Regions from separate parts of the Homo sapiens genome. Here region 2 is linked to region 1. The links are contacts of gene promoters, found by promoter capture Hi-C in human tissues and cell types (Jung and others, 2019). All regions are on one chromosome and are shown on one strand. The core of a region is centred on a gene start or on the middle of the fragment in contact, and the rest is flanking DNA. Distances in the headings are between cores, read along the strand shown. Region 1 holds the start of JDP2 (Jun dimerization protein 2). Region 2 holds the start of LOC124903348 (a long non-coding RNA gene).

The links. Contacts are between HindIII fragments. The study calls those that stand out against the background at their distance.
Region 2: a contact is called between a fragment that was not itself captured here and the fragment with the promoter of JDP2 in region 1, in 1 of the 25 tissues and cell types used here (dorsolateral prefrontal cortex).

The regions. Positions count from the first base shown.
Region 1 is chr14:75,426,725-75,430,509 of GRCh38, reverse strand. It overlaps JDP2 (Jun dimerization protein 2), which reads right to left and starts at 2,488. Exons shown (of 4, transcript NM_001135048.2): 1 at 2,258-2,488. JDP2-AS1 (JDP2 antisense RNA 1) reads left to right here and starts at 2,855. Exons shown (of 2, transcript NR_184172.1): 1 at 2,855-3,040. RefSeq lists silencers at 1,840-2,009, 2,070-2,249, 2,500-2,769 and enhancers at 2,435-2,992, 2,960-3,019, 3,040-3,369, 3,620-3,719. The HindIII fragment of the contact is 10,168 bases long and covers 280-3,785 here.
Region 2 is chr14:74,855,375-74,859,217 of GRCh38, reverse strand. It overlaps PROX2 (prospero homeobox 2), which reads left to right. Exons shown (of 6, transcript NM_001243007.2): 4 at 704-811; 5 at 2,223-2,417. LOC124903348 (a long non-coding RNA gene) reads right to left here and starts at 712. Exons shown (of 2, transcript XR_007064269.1): 1 at 452-712; 2 at 1-385. RefSeq lists an enhancer at 3,338-3,843. The HindIII fragment of the contact is 3,434 bases long and covers 1-3,088 here.

The DNA.
Region 1 (3,785 bases), core at 1,239-3,738:
ATATAGGTATGCACACACACATACCCATATACACTCACTCCATTTTTCTCTTCCTCCCATTTCGGTTTCAAACATAATTCATTCGCATGGAAAAAAAGCAAACTGCATCCTGCAGCAGAAAGGCAGAAAAGAATGTAGCTTGCCCTCAACCCTGGCTCTGATTGCTCAAGTTGAGCTGGAGCTGAATGAATACAGAGCAGGCCGGCCTAGAGTCGGCGTTGGCCCCTTTCTTTCCAGAGTGGAGCTGGAAACAGACACTCGAGAGAGACAGCCCATTGCAACACCAGTAGCCCCACGACAAACAAGGCCCAGAGAGCCTATTCCTGCCAGGGATTCTGCAGGTTGGAAAAAAATGCCCACACATCCTACAAACAGGTAGGGAGATGACAACAAACCCAGGGAGTCAGGAGGAGCATTCCCTGGTAGCTGCAAAAGTTAGGCAGTGGATGAGTGGGGAGACCCTTATCCAAACCCTTCCTAGGGGGCATTGTCACCACTTTGCAACACATCTCCTTGGAGGTGGCTGCAGCCAACCTAGGAGAAAAGCCAGAGGTCTACACACCCATGACTTCCTGCAGCCCACCTAGGAGAAAAGCCAGAGGTCTACACACCCATGACTTCCTGCAGCCCTTCAAATCACACAGCACCCAGCTCTTCAGGAAGATTCTGGAGCTGCCTGCAGCTCTGAACCAAAGCCAAAGTAGAAGGGAACAGAAGAGTCTTTGAGAAATCCATCCTCCCTGCTCTAAACAAGGCAAAACCTTAACCACCCAGAGGTGTGAGAATAGATTTTGCTTCTCTTCCTCGATCCTCAGGTTTATACAAAATCAGAGCCATGCTCACACCTGATACCTGGTTAAACTCTCCCCTAGAAACCTGCAAAGGAAGATAAGCTATCCATCCAAGCTGCAGCCAGATTTGCTGGAAAGGTAAAAGCAATGGGAAGTGTTTTTTAAAACCCTCAGGGAAGGAAGGTTGGGGGGAAGGGAGATGATACGCGAATGCAGTTTCTACCAAGGGCTTAAAGGACGTTTGGGTACAAATGTACCCAAACATGGTTCAAAGCTTCCCAATTCCTGATGCTCCTCCAATTAAGACCCTAGGGAGAGACCACCAAGATTTAAGCCTGGGTACACACGCCTAAGCAGGCTGCAAGCCCTTTCTGAGATATAGACCTGAGCACATTTGCCCTGAGCACACGTGGTCGGGCCATAGCCCCATGCCCTGGATTCCAACAGGGAGGGCAGCACCCTGGGCAAGGGCCACGCCATCTTGCAACTGGAGATGACCCAAGGGGGTCGGCTGATTTCTCCTTCCACCAGCCTCTCCATCCCTGCAAAAGAGCCAGGACCTCCCCATCTTCCCCAGCCTCCTCATCTTCCCTGCTCCTCCTACTGACCCAGGCAAAGCCTGGCTCTGCCATCCCAGGGTCCAGGGATCCAGGTGGAAGGCCCAATCCACCCCTACACTCTCCCACCCCCCACTGCACCCCTACCCCTCGACAACCTCCTTTGAAGGGAGGAGCAGAGGAGAGCCTTCTAAGCTGGGCTGGGCAAGGGAGAGGCTGGTTACCTACAGGAGCCTGCTTGCCTCCTTATATAACCTGGCGTGGGAGACAGGAGAGCCCAAAGGGGACCCCGGCCACCCCTAGATCCCCTCCCAGCCCAGAGCTCCGAAGCAATGGCCATGAGAGAAGCTGCCTTCATTGGATGGAAATCCCGAGCCCTTCTCAATACTCTCCTCCGGGTCCGGGTCCTCCGGGAGTCGCGCTTCCTCACTGCCAGGAGGTCCTTGTCATCCCTCCACAATCTAACCCCGACCCCAACCCCGCACCTCCCTGGCCCTTCACCCTCCACCTCCACCCGCACAGCCCATCTCCGCGGGCACTTTTCTCCCCACTCACCCCGCCTTCCCCGCCGCCCGAGGAGAGCACCTCCCTGCAAACGGACGGGGGAGGAGAGCGCGGGAGGGAGAAGGAGGGAGCACCCCGGCTGTCCAGGGAGCGGACGGAGCCTCCCGTCCCGGGGCGGGAACCAAAAGGAAGCCTCAGGCTGCCGGGCGCCTCGCGGGAGGGGCCCGGCTGCAGCGCCCGGCGCGGGGAAAGCTCGAGGTCCCTGGGCTGCGGGAGCCTCCCCGCGGGGCTGGGCTGGGGCTCCTCGCGCTCCGCCCGTGCGGGGGCGGCCGTCCCAGGTGCCCGCGCCGCGCCCTGCCCCGCCCCGCCCGTCCCGGCGCCCCCAGCGCGCGCCCTCGCACCCACCGTGCAGAAGGTGCGGGGGGAGGCGGCGCCCCCGGGGCCGGGGCCCGGCTGCAGGCGCCGTGCCCGCTCCGCGCCGCTGCCGCCCGGCCGCGGAGCTCCGCCCGGTGCCCAGGCCTGTCCCGGCCCGGGAGCCGCCGCGGCGCCAGCCCCGCCGCCGCTGCAGCGTCCGCCGCCGCCAGCGCCCCCCGTCGCGGCCGCCGAGCGTCCCTCCCGCAGGCTGTGGCGGGCGGCGGGACGGGTTGCATCAGCCCCGGCTATATAGCGGCCCCTGGGCGGCGGGGAGGGGTCGGGAATGCGGAACCGGCCGAGCTGCCAGCTCCAGACGTCAGAGGGGGACGGAGAGGAAGGGAAGGAGGGGACCGGGGAGGAGGGGGTGTGGAGCCGGCGCTTCACACCCACTGACCTTAACCTCCCCCGCCGCCTTGGGCGCCCTCCTCCCGCGGCCGCTCGCGCTCCTCTCCCCGCGGGGGCGTCCCGGGTTCCATGCAGTCCCCCGGCTCCGCCACCCCACGGTGCAGGAGCGCTCGAGAAAGCAGGACGCGGCGAGCGGTTATGTAAGCGCACCCCCCGCGCACCGCCGCCCGGCTTGTGCCCGCCAGGCAGCAGCAGCCGCAGCCCTAGGAGAGAGACGCGAGAGGCCGGAGCCGGGGGAAAAGTCAAAAGCCCCTTCACGCACAGCCTGTGTTAACCATGTACCTCAGTCCCGGCGCTTCCCCCACAAACTGAGAGCGACAGGGAGAATTTCCGCACAGTTTCATCCTTGGACACTTCAGGACTGAGCGGGTGAGGAGGCGATCTCGCCAGCCTGCTTTATTTTTCGGTGGAGAAGGATGGGCTGAGATGAAGGCATTTGGGGACTCCTACCCCTACCCACCGGCCCCCGCCAGCGCCCTTAGGCCCCGAGACGGCTGGCTGCACCAGCCTGACCTCTGCTAGGGCTGCAGCCTGAGACCGCGGCTTGCTCTACTGCTGGCGCAGTTTGACCCTTGGGCTTGTACCCTGCTCCAGCGGGCTTCTCCTTTCCACTCCGGACACAGCAGTGAGCAGACCCAGCCCTCAGCAGACCCCAAGTGGCCTTCTTCCCCGTTCCAGCTTCAATAGCCAACCCCACTCCCACCTTCCATCCTTCTAGAGAGGAAATGGTGAAGGGGACTCCAGAGGGAAGGCGACATCCATGGTGCCCTCCAGTATACAAAGGCAGAGACACAGAGCCCTCAGGTAGAACGGGGTTCCCTAGATGGCATCTCCTACCTCCAGAGCTCCTGGGTACCCATCGAGCCCCCTACCTTCTGCCTAAGCCAGATAGGAGTGACGATTTTTATACTCAGCGACTTTCGGCCTCCTTCTGAGAGTGATGTCAGGTCATCACCCATAGAAGAAAGGAAGTGAAAGAAAAAGTTCATGCCTTCTTGGAGTGCAGATGCTCAGAGTGAAAGAAACAACAAGACTTGAGACAGATGGGTGCCATTGAGCAAACCCGAACATGCATGTCTCTCTCATGTGAGTGAGTGCATGAGACTTTATTCTC
Region 2 (3,843 bases), core at 122-2,621, 570 kb after region 1:
ACAGAGGTGGGAGCTTCTGAGCTGAGACCTGAAAGATGAGGGATAGTTCTGCCAGGCAAATGGAGAGTGGGTACCACCCAACCATTCAAGCTTCTTGAGCAAGAGCAAAATATGAGCTGGTATTCAGCCTGCTTAGATGTTTGCTGGTTATAAAGGCAACACTGTGAAGGCAATGATAAGAGTGACAGCCAGAATGGGGACCACCTAGTTTACTCTTCTCGTTTTACAGCTGAGGAAACTGAGGCAGAGAGGGGAAGTAAATCTCTGCTTGGGGTTTTGAAATGGTTTATCTGGGATAGAATTGCCATCTCTTCCCATCCCACTTGGACACCACACACACACACACACACACACACACACACACACACACACACAATACACCAACCTGTATTTGACATCTAAGACACCACACACACACACACACACACACACACACACAAAATACACCAACCTGTATTTGACATCATCTATGCTACATAACTTTTCCACATCGAGATGATTTTTACATTCTGTGACTTAACTGTGCACATATGTCATCCAGCTTATTTGACCAGAGTTTCCAGAGACAGAAAAATGGAGCAAATACACAATTCCAATCAGAAAAACAAAATGAAATCAAATAGAAACCACAGGAACAAGGAATTCACTAGTTAATTGATAAACTGGCATTTTAAAGTGTTCATTTTCCTTGACACTGAGATAAATCCAGGAGGGTCTAAACCCTGGTCACTTGAAGAAGGCCAAACTAATGTTTTTCTTCACACGATATCCCAGCTCCAACCTCCTGAAGGTTTATTTTCCTGATGTTCAGGTAAAGTCACTCAACTAAATGGCAGCTTCTGCAGAACTCCCAAGAGGCAGTGTGTTTTGCCTGGTGTGAGGCAAGTCCTAGGTCATCATATGTGCACTTCAAGCTCCCCTTAGTGTTGCTGATGGAAGCAATGTCCAGTTCTGGGCTGAGACTCTACCCAAATAACCGTGAATAACTTTAGGCTAGAAAGGCTGGCTGTCTAAATTCTTAAGCTACTGAGCTGTAGATAATCCCCAAAACAGAAACACATGGGCAGGAAAAGTAGAGGGAAACAGAAACACTAGTTAGTGGCCTTTTTGGCTAGTTTTCTGCCTTGGCTGGGGACACTATGAAAAATAAAATATAGGCCAGGCACAGTGGCTCATGCCTCTAATCCCAGCACTTTGGGAGGCCGAGGTGGGCAGATGACCTGAGGTCAGGAGTTCGAGACCAGCCTGACCAACATGGTAAAACCCCATGTCTACTAAAAATACAAAAACTAGCTGGCGTGGTGGCGTGCGCCTGTAATCCCAGCTACTCGGAGGCTGAGGCAGGAGAATCACTTGAACCCAGGAGGTGGATGTTGCAGTGAACAGAGATCACGCCACTGCACTCCAGCCTGGGCGACAAAGCGAGACTACATCTCAAAAAAAAAAAAACACACAAAAACAAACAAACAAACAACAAAAAATATATATAGAGAGGGAGAGAGAGACAGAGTGTCAGACACTGTCAAATTTATGTTCAAATTGCTATAGTTCAAAACTGAGTGAAAGTACATACAGATGAAGTGTGACAATAAGGAAAATCAAACTAATTGTTGGGACCAGACCTCCCCTGTTCCCATAAAAGGTTTCTGAGGGCCTCTTTTACTTTGGGTGTTGGGTTAGGGGCTGTTAATACTTTTGGTCTACATCATTCAAGCTTTTCTTTCCCTCATATTCAGTTGGTTGGTTGATCCCTGAAGCAACCTCTGATTTTGATTTCAATTCATTCCACAATTCAAAGTTGCTAATAAACTGCTCCCTGACCTACATCTTGCCCTTCCCTTGGCCCTTTATCCAAGTGGAAGGCCCCAGGCCTGCCATGCAGTCCACCTGGGTGCAGCAAAATCTGGCACCACACTGGTCGTGACCCCTAAGTCCCACTCAAACACCACAAAAAGCTTTTCATGGGTAAAACAACCCCCATAAATCTAGCATATCAAAAAAAAGTTATGTTCTAATGGGCACTGTAGCTAATTTAGATTTTTCTGAGTATAACTAAATAGGCTTGGAAAATAGCGGTGGCTTCGCTTCTTTTTTTAAAGGAAGCCCCTGTTAATGCTGGTTAAAGCCGTATATGAACCCCTATACTGAGCTGGAAGCAGACAGTTCTAATTCTGAGCACCTCGTGGCAAATGTCTGACTGGATGGACCTCTTGTTTGTACAGTTCAACCGCTGCATTACCTCCCAGATGATCAAGTGGTTCAGCAACTTTCGTGAGTTTTATTACATCCAAATGGAAAAATCTGCCCGGCAAGCAATTTCAGATGGTGTCACAAATCCCAAAATGCTGGTGGTTCTCCGCAATTCAGAACTTTTTCAAGCTCTCAATATGCACTACAACAAGGGAAATGACTTTGAGGTAAGACCATGTACTGGGTTCCCATGAGATCTGATGAGTGTCTTCCCTATATGATTCGAGTTTTAGGAAAGATCCCTCTTCTGTGTCTCCTTAAGTTACTGAGAGCCAGGGCAGCCTGGGCCAATCTCTGTATCATCCACAAAGATTACAGCCTCAACATCTTCACTTGGGCAACAGGTGGAAGCAGCAAACTGAGTCAACAGCCAGTCTTCATTCTGAAGCTTAGTGAGAGGGCTGCCAGGTGTTACACCATCTTAGACTGAATACCCTGTCATTATCAAGTTACATAACTTCCTGACCTTTTTGCCTTAGTGCCAGGAGGCTCAGGACTGAATGCTGAGCTCAGTTGTGGCACCTAGTCTTGGCCTAGGTTTTCTCAACAATTTCTATGCTTTTCATGATTTGATTCTTATCTGTATTTTCCCTTGAAAATGTATCAGTGGGCCTTCCATAGCAAGTCACCTCAAATCCTTTCTGGAAATAACAATAAACAACACTCAAGCTCAGTCCCTCGGGGATCCCTATGAAGGCACACTGGTGGCACCTCAGAGGTAAAGCGTCAGTGAAAGGTGAGCCTAGGTGTCACTGGCGCACATTCCTAATCAAGAGATGCATGTTGCCTCATGCACAGCTGACAGCTGTTAGGCTGGCATCTGATTCTGCAGGTGCCGGGTATATCTGGTCACAGATTACACTTCCCTCTTCTTGACTTCTCCCTTGACTGTGATCACAAAGAGTGGTTTATTGATACCTCCAAAAAATACAAGAACTGTGGTCATCCACTGGTTGACTGGTGAGTCAGAGTATGTTTGGAAAGCTAAGACTACCTGTGGGGAAAATTGTCCATGTCTCCCTTTCTGAGGCTCAAGGGGTCACGGCCAGTATGGGACAGGCAGCACTGCTGCATCTTTCCACATAGGGTGGTCATTTGACCTGCAGTGGCAGCAAGCCCCAAGCCAAGCTGGGTCTGGAGCTTGGCAGTGGGGCAACCCATCATTCATGGTGCCAGTCTGGGTTAGGATTCTAGAACAGCACCCCCGTCAACCAGCTCTGAAAGCAGGAGTGTAAGCTCTTCAGACCCAGCCCTAAAAGGCAGTGGAATGAGGTATGACAGTCAGAAGCTTGGGGGCACTCCTTTCCACAGTTAGTACTAGGGAAAAGAATACCGAAGTCTCTTTGAGCCACAGATTTACTTTCAGTAAGATTTTCTGACCTGCTTAGTTAAAAAGTCGCCCATTAGCGAGATCAGCTCCTCCTACAAAGGAAGTGTCCTTAATTCACCTTCTCCCAGGGCTTTCTCACTGGAGCTGTCTTATCAAGGTTTGTGTCTGATGAGGAAGCAGAGGAGTCCTAGGGTTGCAGAATCAGGGGCCACTAGAGCAGGGATGCTCCTAGCCCACTACCCAAGAAACAGGCAGCACCCGCT